Linked DNA regions of Homo sapiens: regions 1 and 2 are each linked to region 3. Evidence: promoter capture Hi-C in 16 types of primary human blood cells and fetal thymus (Javierre and others, 2016). All regions are on one chromosome and are shown on one strand. The core of a region is centred on a gene start or on the middle of the fragment in contact, and the rest is flanking DNA. Distances in the headings are between cores, read along the strand shown. Region 1 holds the start of MDH1B (malate dehydrogenase 1B). Region 2 holds the start of ATIC (5-aminoimidazole-4-carboxamide ribonucleotide formyltransferase/IMP cyclohydrolase). Region 3 holds the start of LANCL1 (LanC like glutathione S-transferase 1).

Region 1 (3,782 bases), core at 476-2,975, 3.7 Mb before region 3:
AACTACTGAATGTGGCTCAAAAGAATCTACATTATCTAACTCTAGCCTCACCTTATGAAATTCTCTTCCTTGTACTATTTGCTTCAGTCCTAATAAACTTATTTCAATTTTATACTTATTTTATATTCTCAATTGTCACCAAACTAGTTCTCCTTGCTCTAACCCCACTCCCAGTTACCCATGCCTAAATTGCTCCCCTCCTTTCTACCTCTTCTCTGTTAGGTAATTCATTATCATCTTTCAGGTATCTGCTTAAAATCTCTCCCTCTGGGAAACCCTTACCTGATTAAGTAAGGTCCCTGCTATCGTTCCTATAGAACCCTGCCCTGTCAGTGTCATACATGCAACATTCTCTGTGTGTTTTCCACTGACTTCCCACCATGTGGTTAGTCAGTGTTCAAAAATATTCTTCTGGGCCAGGTGTGGTGGTGCATGCCTGTAATCTTGGCACTTTGGGAGGTCAAGGTGGGCAAATCACTTGAGCGTAGGAGTTCAAGACCAGCGTGGGCAACATGACAAAACCCCATCTCTACAAAAATACAAAAATTAGCTGGGCATGCTGGTGTATGCCTGTAGTCCCAGCTACTTGGGAGGCTGAGGTGGGAGGATCGCTTGAGCCCAGGAGGTCAAAGCTGCTGTGAGCCACGATTGCACCACTGCAATCCAGCCTGGGTGACAAAGTGAGAGCCTGTCTCAAAAAAAAAAAAAAATCTCCTGTGGATGGTAGATGTCAATTGTGTTCAATGCATCAAAGAGATCAAATAAGTCAAAGACTAAACAGCTTCTATAAAAGTCAGTGGTGACTTTGGTGACAGCAGTTTCTGTCAGGAAGCAGAAGTAGAAGCCTTCTTCCAAGACTGATTGGAAGGCAGAACTGGAGATGGAAGAGCAGTCTACTCTTTTAAGAAACTTTACGAGGAGAGGAGGTAGGTACCATGGATTGTTGTAATAAAAGCCTTCTCAGTTGAGTCCTTGCTGTCAACCAGCACTTTCAATCATTCTCTCCGTTGCTGCCAAGACAGGCTTCCTAAAATGCAAACTCATTAAGACTACTCTCCTGCTTAAAATTTTTCTATAATTCCTCATTGCTTTCAGGATACAGTTCAAACACCTTTGCTTGACCTACATGAAATGCAAGGACCTGGCTCCTGCTCCTGTTGTAGCCCCAGGTCCTGTCACGCCCCACATATCCAGATCTTCTGTTAGGCCAGGAAGCTTCCTGCCTCTCTGCTTTTATTTGGAATAGCCTCCTCAGCTCACACCTTCACAACTCAGCTCCTGTAATACCTTCCCCAGCCAGTTCCTTGTGTCCACCTCTCCCTCATCCCCCAAACCCAGATTAGGAGTCTACGCTCCCAGAGGCCTGTGCAGGTCTCCTTCATCGCGTTAATCACACCGTATCAAAAGTACATGTTCTGTGCCCCATGAGACTGAAAGCTCCTCTAAGGCAGGGATATGTTTCCCTCCATTGCATCCCCAGTGTCCCACAATGCTTGGCGCACCGTCACGGTCCAGTAAAAAACTTTGAATAAATCTATAGCAAAGCATGGAGCGGTCCGTATAGAGGCTGCCAAGCCGAGCGGCCATGGGAGGTGAGCTGTTGTCGGCGTTTTGAGCAATCTGCGGGCGGACGCGGGGATCACTCACCCGCGATGACGAATTTGGCCATGGTCGAGAGAGACTCAGAGGCAGGGACCGCGGCTTCGCGGTTTCCTGGCAACCACGCAGCCAAGGGCAAGGCGCAGGCGCACTACAAAGTCTGGCGCCCAGCAGAGGTTAGGTGTTTAAAGTTAGGACCTGAATGGGTTACGTTGCGATACACGATCAAACATCGCCCTTATAAGCTCTGTGGTATCCCCGAGCCCCACTCCTGTATGCAGGGAAATTAGTCATTCTCCTTGGTAAACTTTCTTCAAGTAAGTCCTTCAGCTACAGCCGCGAACATATGCTTTTTGACCTTTGAGGGAATCCGTAAGATCTCGTGAGAAGCGCAGCTTCTCGGGGAAGCTGTCATGGCTGCTCCTGTACGTAGTCACGGTCTTGTGCTCTAAGGTGAGTGGAGGACGAGCTTGGGCTTAGCGGCAGCCCGTATCACATCCTAGACTTTTTACTTCGAGGAGAAGAGTCTCACGAGTTGTCCTGGAAGTAAGTTTAAAGGAGGTGGGTTAATGCTGGGCGGCCCAGCTGCGGAAGGACAGGCTCTTGAAGTTGGTTCTGGGGTCTGGTGAGGCTGGCTGGTTGTATAAGATCTTCCTCTTAAGCGCAGGCCACGTGCAGACATCGCTTTCGTTTTCTGCTTCTTCCACTGAGCCGTTCTACCTGCCCAGGTCCCTATTCTTGATGGTCTGGGTTCGGCCGTTGCTAAATCGTCATGTTGAAAATGATCTATCAGCCGGGCGCGGTGACTCACGCCTTGGGAGGCCGAGGCGGGTGGATTACCTGAGGTCAGGAGTTCAGGACCAGCCTGGCCAACATGGTGAAACTCCGTCTTTACAAAAAATACAAAAATTAGCCGGGCGTGGTGGCATACGCCTGTAATCCCAGCTACTTGGGAGGCTGAGACAGGAGAATTGCTTGAACCTGGGAGGTGGAGGTTGCAGTGAGCCAAGATCGCGCCACTGCACTCTAGCCTGGGGGACATAGCAAGACTTTGTCTCAAAAAAAAAAAAAAAAAAAAAAAAAACAGAGAAGAGAAAAGAAAATGATCTATCAATGCTAATCCCCTAATTTTCACCGAGGACATTTCCATAACAATGCCAACAAAAGTCTCTCCTACAGAGAAAGCTTTATGGAACGCTTTTGCACCAGAAAAATCTCATTAATACAATGACTACTTCCAAAGTGACCTGGCTTCTTTGAAACTGGACACATTGTGGTAGATTGGAGGGAGCCCACATTGGTAAAAAAAACTTTTACTGTTTTATGTAAATGTTTAATGGCTCCATAGGTTCCCCATTTTCTCTTCTGTTAAATGCATTTCATTTCTTTAAGTAAAAGTTTTGTTTTAATTTTTATTCTTTTCATTACTTCTTCCCCTACAGGAAAACGACAGCACGTGTTCTTTTTCACTAGTAGAAGTGACGTTGGTTTCATGTTGACAACTTTGAAGCCATTTGGAAGTGTTTCAGTGGAGAGCAAAATGAATAACAAAGCGGGCTCCTTTTTCTGGAACCTTAGACAATTCAGTACATTAGTTTCAACAAGCAGAACTATGAGGCTATGTTGTTTGGGACTTTGCAAACCAAAAATAGTTCATTCAAACTGGAACATTTTAAATAACTTTCATAACAGAATGCAATCAACTGATATCATTAGATATCTCTTTCAGGATGCATTCATTTTTAAATCAGATGTTGGCTTTCAAACAAAGGGCATAAGCACTCTAACAGCCCTTAGAATTGAAAGACTACTTTATGCTAAAAGACTGTTTTTTGACTCAAAGCAGTCTCTTGTCCCTGTTGATAAATCTGATGATGAATTGAAGAAAGTAAACCTTAATCATGAAGTCTCCAATGAAGATGTTCTTACCAAGGAAACAAAACCAAACCGTATCAGCAGTAGAAAACTGTCTGAGGAATGTAATTCCCTGAGTGATGTGTTAGATGCATTTTCAAAAGCGCCCACATTTCCTAGTAGCAACTATTTCACAGCAATGTGGACAATTGCCAAAAGACTGTCTGATGACCAGAAGCGCTTTGAAAAACGACTGATGTTTAGCCACCCTGCATTTAATCAGCTCTGTGAACATATGATGAGAGAAGCCAAGATCATGCAGTATAAGT
Region 2 (3,361 bases), core at 217-2,716, 4.8 Mb after region 3:
GGCAAAGGTGTCATTTTTAGAAAGAAACAAATGTGTTCAATTTTGCTTTCCCTGTTTTTAATGAATTAAGAAAGGTCTTCTCTTACCTTCTTTTGACTGTCATCATTCCTCTCATCCAGGAATATTTACAGGTTTGCAAGAAGACACCATCTTTAAGTAGTTTTTAGGCACTTTTACAATACTGACTAAATTGTATAAAATAGTATTATAAATTAATATTTAAATTATAATTTTATGACGTGAAAATCAACAACGAATGTCAATTTCACTTCGTTTTGACTGTCATCTGTGGCCTCTGGAGTCCCTCACTTAAATCATTGGTCCTTGGTTTTATTTTTTAAGCCTATTAAAAAGGAGGATGGGGCCGGGCACGGTGGCTCACACCTGTAATCCCAGCACTTTGGGAGGCTGAGGTGGACAGATCATTTGAGGTCAGGAGTTGAAGACCGGCCTGGCCAACACCGTGAAACCCCATCTCTACTAAATATACAAAAAAAAAAAAAAAAAAGTACAACAACAACAAAAAATTAGACGGGTGTGGAGGCAGAGGCAGGAGAATTTCTTGAACCTGGGAGGCAGAGGTTGCAGTGAGCTGAGATGGTGCCACTGCTCTCCAGTCTGGGAGACAGAGCGAGACCCTGTCTCAAAACAAACAAGCAAACAAGCAAGCAAGCAAACAAACAAAAAACAAGTTGGGCATGGTGGCTCACCCCTGTAATCCCAGCACTTTGGGAAGCCGAGGCAGGCGGATCACCTGAGGTCAGGAGTTTGAGACCAGCTTGGCCAACATGGCGAAACCCCATGTCTACTAAAAATACAAAAATTAGCCGGGCATCGTGGCGCCTGCCTATAATTCCAGCTACTCGGGAGGCTGAGGCAGGATAAACTCTTGAACCCGGGATGTGGAGGTTGCAGGTTGCACGTGACATAGCCGAGATCGCGCCATTGCACTCCAGCCTGGGCAACAAAAGCGAAACTCCATCTCAAAAAAAAAAAAAAAAAACAAAAAAAACAAAAAAACCCAGAAAAACAAAAAAACAACAAACAAAAAGGGAGGATGGTAGATAACTGTCCAGATACTTTCCAGCTTTGCCGCTATATGAACTATTCCTTTTGTTTAGTTTTCAGCATGGGAGCTTCTGGCACTTTTACGTACTTTCCAGCTTCTGGGGACCGGCTGCCTAGAATAACAGGCATTTGCCCCAGAGGCCGTGGAGTGGCCTCACTTTGGGGTCGTGGGCAGATCGCTGGCTCCCACGCCTGGACTTCGGGATCGCAGGCAGGATCCCTTCCAGCCCAAGCACTCCGCCCAGGCGCGCCAGGCAGAGCCCCACCCCATCCCGCCGTTCCCTTCAGCCCCGGGGCGCGGATCTTGCATCTGAAACTGAGCAGAGCAGGGCGCCGGGCAGGGCCGGCGGGCCACGTGATAAGCCCGGAAACAGCTCCGCCCCCTCGCTTCCTGAGCCGCCACATCCCGGCAGCCCTCCTACCTGCGCACGTGGTGCCGCCGCTGCTGCCTCCCGCTCGCCCTGAACCCAGTGCCTGCAGCCATGGCTCCCGGCCAGCTCGGTGAGGCCCTAGCGGAGCGGCGCGGTCTGCGTCCTCGCCTGCGGCCCCCCACGCTCCCGCCTTGGCGGCGGCCGGCGGGACCCGGCACTGCAGGGGCGGCGCTGCGGGATTGAAAGCCAGCGTCCCCGCTCCCCGGCCGGGCCGCAGCCTGCGTGGGGCCCGCCTTAGAGCAGCTCGCGGGTGTAAGACCTGGGGAGGCCCGGACCAGGCCTGCGAACGCAGGGTCCAGGTGCTGGCCTTGCGATTCGAGAATCTCCTCCCCCAGACCCTCCCAAGGCCTTGCAGAACACAGTGCAATGTGCTGCGAATCATGAGAAAAAATGTCTTCTCTTTCAGCCTTATTTAGTGTCTCTGACAAAACCGGCCTTGTGGAATTTGCAAGAAACCTGACCGCTCTTGGTTTGAATCTGGTCGCTTCCGGAGGGACTGCAAAAGCTCTCAGGGATGCTGGTCTGGCAGTCAGGTAAGGCATAGCTAGTTCCATCAGAAAGGAGTGTGATCACATTAACCAGGAAGTATTGTATTCCAGGCACCAGCAGCAAAACGCCTTATTTACTCCTCCCAGTAGCGCTGTGAGGTTGGTGTAATACTTCCCCACTTTATGGGGAAAAAAAGTGAGGCTCAGAGAGATTTAGCAACTTTTAAGACCCTGGACGGCTGGGCTAGGTGGCTCACGCATGTAATCCCAGCACTTTGGGAGGCCGAGGTGGGCTGATCACTTACGGTCAAGAGTTCGAGACCAGCCTGGCCAACATGGTGAAACCCGTCTCTACTAAAAATACAAAAATTAGCCGGTATGGTGGCACACGCCTGTAATCCCAGCTACTGGGAAGGCTGAGGCAGGAGAATCGCTTGAACCTAGGAGGCGGAGGTTGTGGTGAGCCGAGATGGCACTACTGCACTCCATCCTGGGTGACAGAGAAAGACCCTGGACAACACACTGGACAGATTTAGCATCTTCTGCACAAGTTTAAACAGTTGAGTAAGGGAAAAGTAGGATTGGAACCCGTGCTGTTCCTGATTTTAGGACACTAGTCTTAGCCCCTTCCTTAAACAGATTAACTTAGGTGGGCCACTTGTTATGCAAGGAAAACTTCAGTTACTTTGACTGGTGATTTAATAAAACTCGACATCATGAAGATTCCAATTTACCTGCCTTCCCTTAGAATCTCTGGTAACCATATGAAGGTGCAAATCATTCATTCCCACGTTCACAAGCCCTTCATTAGCTGACTAGGCCATGGAAAGAAGGGACTTAGAAATGATTAACCAGGATGCCATTGCTGATGTCAAGGAGTGGCATTCTGGGAGGAGAGGGAGGAAGTCTACTGAAAGGTAGAAAAATGAAAAAAACTATAGGATAGCTATTTAATAAACGGCAGTGAGAGTTGGGAGGAACGAGATGACCACCCCTGAAACATATTTTAGAATGAAAGAGATGAAGGATATCTGTCTGCTTTTTGTTGCCATGTGGAAAATTTGCTTCTTGGTTTCTAGATCCATGTAGAGGTAGGTTATTACCTTTTCTTTGTGCAGTTCCCAGCTATGTGAGCAGTACACAGCTTCCCTAAGTTTAACAAGTTCAGATGGTAAGAATGCCTTACTTTATTAACAAATACATAACTGTATATTTTCGGATGTCTTTTTGCGTCTTGTCTCTGTGGTTTTCATGGGAAACCTGTGAGAATCGTGGCAGGCAAGTTGGCTCTTTGCTCATCAGCAACCGAATGAGAATTCAAAGTCCAGACCTGCGTGCTTTCCATTGGGCCAAGTTGGGTCCTCCTATGGTAAT
Region 3 (3,778 bases), core at 1,214-3,713:
ACACAATTTTAGAACTGGTATGCTACTTCCTTTCTAGGACCTGTCCAAAAACTACGTTAGGCAATAAACTACATTATTACTCTTGGGTCAGGGTTTAAATTTGTGAATTTTTCCCCTTAGAAACAAAGGGTTAAATTTGGCCCGACATGGTGGCTCACACCTGTAATCCCGGCACTTTGGGAGGCTGAGATGGGTGGATCACTTGAGGTCAGGAGTTCGACACCAGCCTGGCCAACATGGTGAAACCCTGCCTCTACTAAAAATACAAAAAAAAAAAAAAATTAGCCAGGTGCGGTGGTGTGCACCTGTAATCCCAGCTACTCAGGAGGCTGGGGCATGAGAGTCACTTGGGCCTGGGAGGCAGAAGTTGCAGTGAGCCAAGACTGTGCCTCTGCACTCCAGCCTGGGCTCAGGGTGAGACTCCGTCTAAAAAAATAAAAATAAAAATAAATAAATAAATAAATAAAGGGTTAAATTCATAAAAAGCATTTACTTTATAGGCAGTCTAAATAGGTACATTTTATTGAAGGTTTCTGTCACTAGGACAATCCTCAACTGTTCTCTTTGCCAAGTCAGTATGAAGCAGCAAGTCCTCCTCCCGCAAGACAAGACACATACTTCAGCTTGAGAATCTGCACAGCTAAGCAGAATGCAGGCCCAAATGGCCAAAGGGAATCCATCTGACCTGAAGATAATTATAAAAAGCTTTGTTTGGGCAGCTTAATACTAGTCTTAAAATAATCAGATTGACTCAAACTCCATATACATTTTGGTAGCCTTCTACCCTACACCTCTTCTTCATCTCTTTGATTCCTCCTACCTGCATTACTGACCCAAGTTAATCTATAATGTGACAAGTGTTTTAAGGAAAAAAACAACCATCAGACCCACAGATTAATTTGACAGGGATGAAATCTGTAAGGCCTTTATATCACATAAAATGTCTTTTGTATGGCTGACAAGTTTCAAAGAAATAAACTGGTAAAATTTTTAAAGCGTGTGCCTTGTTTCCAACTTAACTCATTTTCAAAACTAAATTTTATTTTTTTATTTTTTAGAGACAGGGTCTCTGTCACCCAGGCTAGAGTGCAGTGGTGCAATCATAGCTCACTACAGCCTCGAATCTCCTAGGCTCCAGCAATTCTCCCGCCTCAGCCTCCCAAGTAGCTGGGACTACAAGCTTTCCACCACACCTGGCTAATTTTTAAAAAAATTTTAGTAGAGATAAGGTCCTGCTGTGTTGCACAGGCTGGTCTCAAACTCGTGGCCTTAAGCAATCCTCCTGCCTTGATTTCCCAAAGTGTCGGGATTAATGGTGTGAGCCACTGCACCCAGCCAAAAGTAGGTATTCTTAAAAATATCTGTATTCCCTCTTAACAATTATGTTCACCCAATGAGGCATGAGAAAACACAGGCCCCTAGTATTTTACATCCAGGTTCTCTTTTGCACAGTGATTTGTGACATGCTAACCAGTTTAATTTACAAGTTTCTTTTTTTTTGTTTTCCAGCTGTGGATATGCCCTGTGGAGTGACACCGGTACAAAGAACTTCAGGTTTCCTAGGTCCCCAAATTCTCTAAGCACTAACAGTTTAAAGACGTCCTTACCATACACCACCGTTTGCTCTCATCATTACCCTGAACGCACTTGTGTATAATCACAAAGGAGTAACACGGCACATGTGAATACCGTTAGGATTCTTCACCTCTTTTTAAGAAGCAAACCAAAATACATTAAAAAATGCCAATTACATAGTAAACTACATATTTGCCAATTTTTAAAATTTATACTATCAATAATTGAGTTTATTTCAATTAATAATGTTAACAATGACACATTTAACATTATGTTAGAGCTCAATTTGTATATATTAACATGTATTTTTAAATAATTTACGTATTTATCGTCGAATCATGTATTTTTTTAAAGGGGGATGCTCAACTCTCTCAGGCAAAAATGAGCACCTTTCCGAACACCGTGGGGAGAGGCAGGGATGCAGGCAGACATATCCTAAACTCACCCTCCCGGCAGCATCAAAGTAGCCTTCGGCCAGGGATTTGTTATAATCAGCATAAGGATTCGGGAAGGCCCTTTGAGCCATGACGCCGGAAGCAAGCCTGCAGAACAGGGGAAAAACAGAAACTAGGTTGAGATAGGGGCCTCGGCCGAGTTGCGAGGGCGGCGGCGGCGCCCAGGTATCCCCCTTCCTCCAGCTCCAGGGCCATCGAGCCGTCTCGGCGGTCCGAGTGGACCTCGGGCCCACTGCGGCCCAACTGCTAGGACATGGCGCCTTCGCGAAAAAGCTGCCAGGGCCCTTAACCCACCCGGACAAAGAGGCCCCGTTTTGCAACCCCGTTCCCACGCCCGCGACTTGAAGCAAGTGCGCCTCCCGCGTCCTGAAGCCCTTCTCGGCCCTGGCCTCTCACCCCGCAGCCCCGGACAGTAACAGAAGGGCTATTTTACCGCCCAGTTCCTGCCAGGAGGGCCAATCAGAGCCTTCGCCGTTCCCGAGACCCGCCCCCTTCTCTCTTACAGTTTGTTAAAGACACAGGCGTGTAATTTCTAAAGGATAACGCAGGGTATTTTAATTACTGGGTAGCAGAAGTGAGGACCTAGAATCACGCGGAGATGTGACCAATATTTCCTACCCTTCTTTAATTTTTCTTATTTTTAAAAAGTCAAATTTAAGTCCAGAGTCATAAGAAGTATATATTTTTTTAACCTGGAGAAGAAACAGACTGCTTTTAGATCTGAACATGCTGGTATTTCTGCTGTTCGCAATAGATAAAATTTGGCGGGGGGTGGGGGGATAATGTCTCTCCAGGGACTTGCCAATCTTTTCTTTTCATTTCTTAAAACAAACAAACAAAAAAGCACCACCATCATTAACAACAACAACAACAAAAATATGCCCAAAGGACAGGATATCAAATAGCAGTTGATAATACTTTGGGGAAAGCACATGAAAACACAAATTACAGCTCTTAGGAAATTTATTCTGTTCCTTAGCCTAAATTGGACTATAATACTGGATAACAAAGCTCTAAAAAATACTGAAAACCAACACAGCAGGAGATCCACAACATTCAATTTCAATGTTTTAACAGTCCCTGCTATCTGAAACATTTTTCTTTCATTTAAAATTAAATCCCACCTGGTACATATTAGGCCCATTCTATTGCTCAGAGAATTTTGGAGTTCAGTTAAAAAGTCAGCCTCACTCTCTCCTTTTCCTTCTCTCCGGTTTCAATGAAGAGTCCTAGCTCCAGACCTCCAACTGGAGAAGCTCAGTCTCCACCCCAACTCCCTCCCTCCTTGGCCTAAGTTTGTCCTTCTGAGGCTGCCATCCCAAACTCTACTCCTAATCCCTCCCCACACCCAGGTTTGCTCTTTTAAAATAGTTGCTTTCTTAGGAAATGTAGTTGCTTTCTTAACCTCATCAAATTCATGAAGATTTAGCCGAGGCCCATGGTGAGTCTTAAGCTGGATATCTCTCATGTTTTAAAAGATGGGTGTTTGAAGGAGCAACTCACAAGAGAGAAAAGGAAAACGAGAGACATTTTATCAATTATTTTTTCTTTAATGATTAAAGGCTATCCATTTATCCCACTCACAGTCTTTAAGCAATTAAATATTACTGTTGTTAAGCAAGGCAGGATGGTAATTGTATATTTTCATAGTATGCCTCTATCTTATTTTACTAATCCTTTCCCCTAATGATGGACATTGTTTCTAACTTCCATACTACAAATAATATTCTTGGAACATGTGCTTTTAT

What was found. Contacts are between HindIII fragments. The CHiCAGO score rates a contact against its expected background, and 5 or more counts as called.
Region 1: the fragment with the promoter of MDH1B here is called in contact with the fragment with the promoter of LANCL1 in region 3 in 3 of 17 cell types (total CD8 T cells, naive CD8 T cells and non-activated CD4 T cells); the score reaches 8.1 in total CD8 T cells.
Region 2: a contact is called between the fragment with the promoter of ATIC here and the fragment with the promoter of LANCL1 in region 3, in 3 of 17 cell types (total CD4 T cells, naive CD8 T cells and activated CD4 T cells). The highest score is 7.3, in total CD4 T cells.

Annotation. Positions count from the first base shown.
Region 1 is chr2:206,763,603-206,767,384 of GRCh38, forward strand. MDH1B (malate dehydrogenase 1B) reads right to left here and starts at 1,726. Exons shown (of 12, transcript NM_001039845.3): 1 at 1,648-1,726. The coding sequence starts at 1,669. It overlaps FASTKD2 (FAST kinase domains 2), which reads left to right and starts at 2,004. Exons shown (of 12, transcript NM_001136193.2): 1 at 2,004-2,145; 2 at 3,042-3,782. The coding sequence starts at 3,092. RefSeq lists enhancers at 1,505-1,644, 1,895-2,274. The HindIII fragment of the contact is 1,569 bases long and covers 1,214-2,782 here.
Region 2 is chr2:215,310,593-215,313,953 of GRCh38, forward strand. ATIC (5-aminoimidazole-4-carboxamide ribonucleotide formyltransferase/IMP cyclohydrolase) reads left to right here and starts at 1,467. Exons shown (of 16, transcript NM_004044.7): 1 at 1,467-1,569; 2 at 1,906-2,032. The coding sequence starts at 1,551. LOC124907975 (a long non-coding RNA gene) reads right to left here and starts at 1,380. Exons shown (of 2, transcript XR_007088075.1): 1 at 87-1,380. RefSeq lists an enhancer at 1,171-1,821 and silencers at 1,352-1,431, 1,442-1,811. The HindIII fragment of the contact is 8,450 bases long and covers 1-3,361 here.
Region 3 is chr2:210,474,296-210,478,073 of GRCh38, forward strand. It overlaps LANCL1 (LanC like glutathione S-transferase 1), which reads right to left and starts at 2,464. Exons shown (of 10, transcript NM_006055.3): 1 at 2,325-2,464; 2 at 2,021-2,117. The coding sequence starts at 2,101. It also overlaps a transcript of CPS1 not described here. The HindIII fragment of the contact is 5,337 bases long and covers 1,179-3,778 here.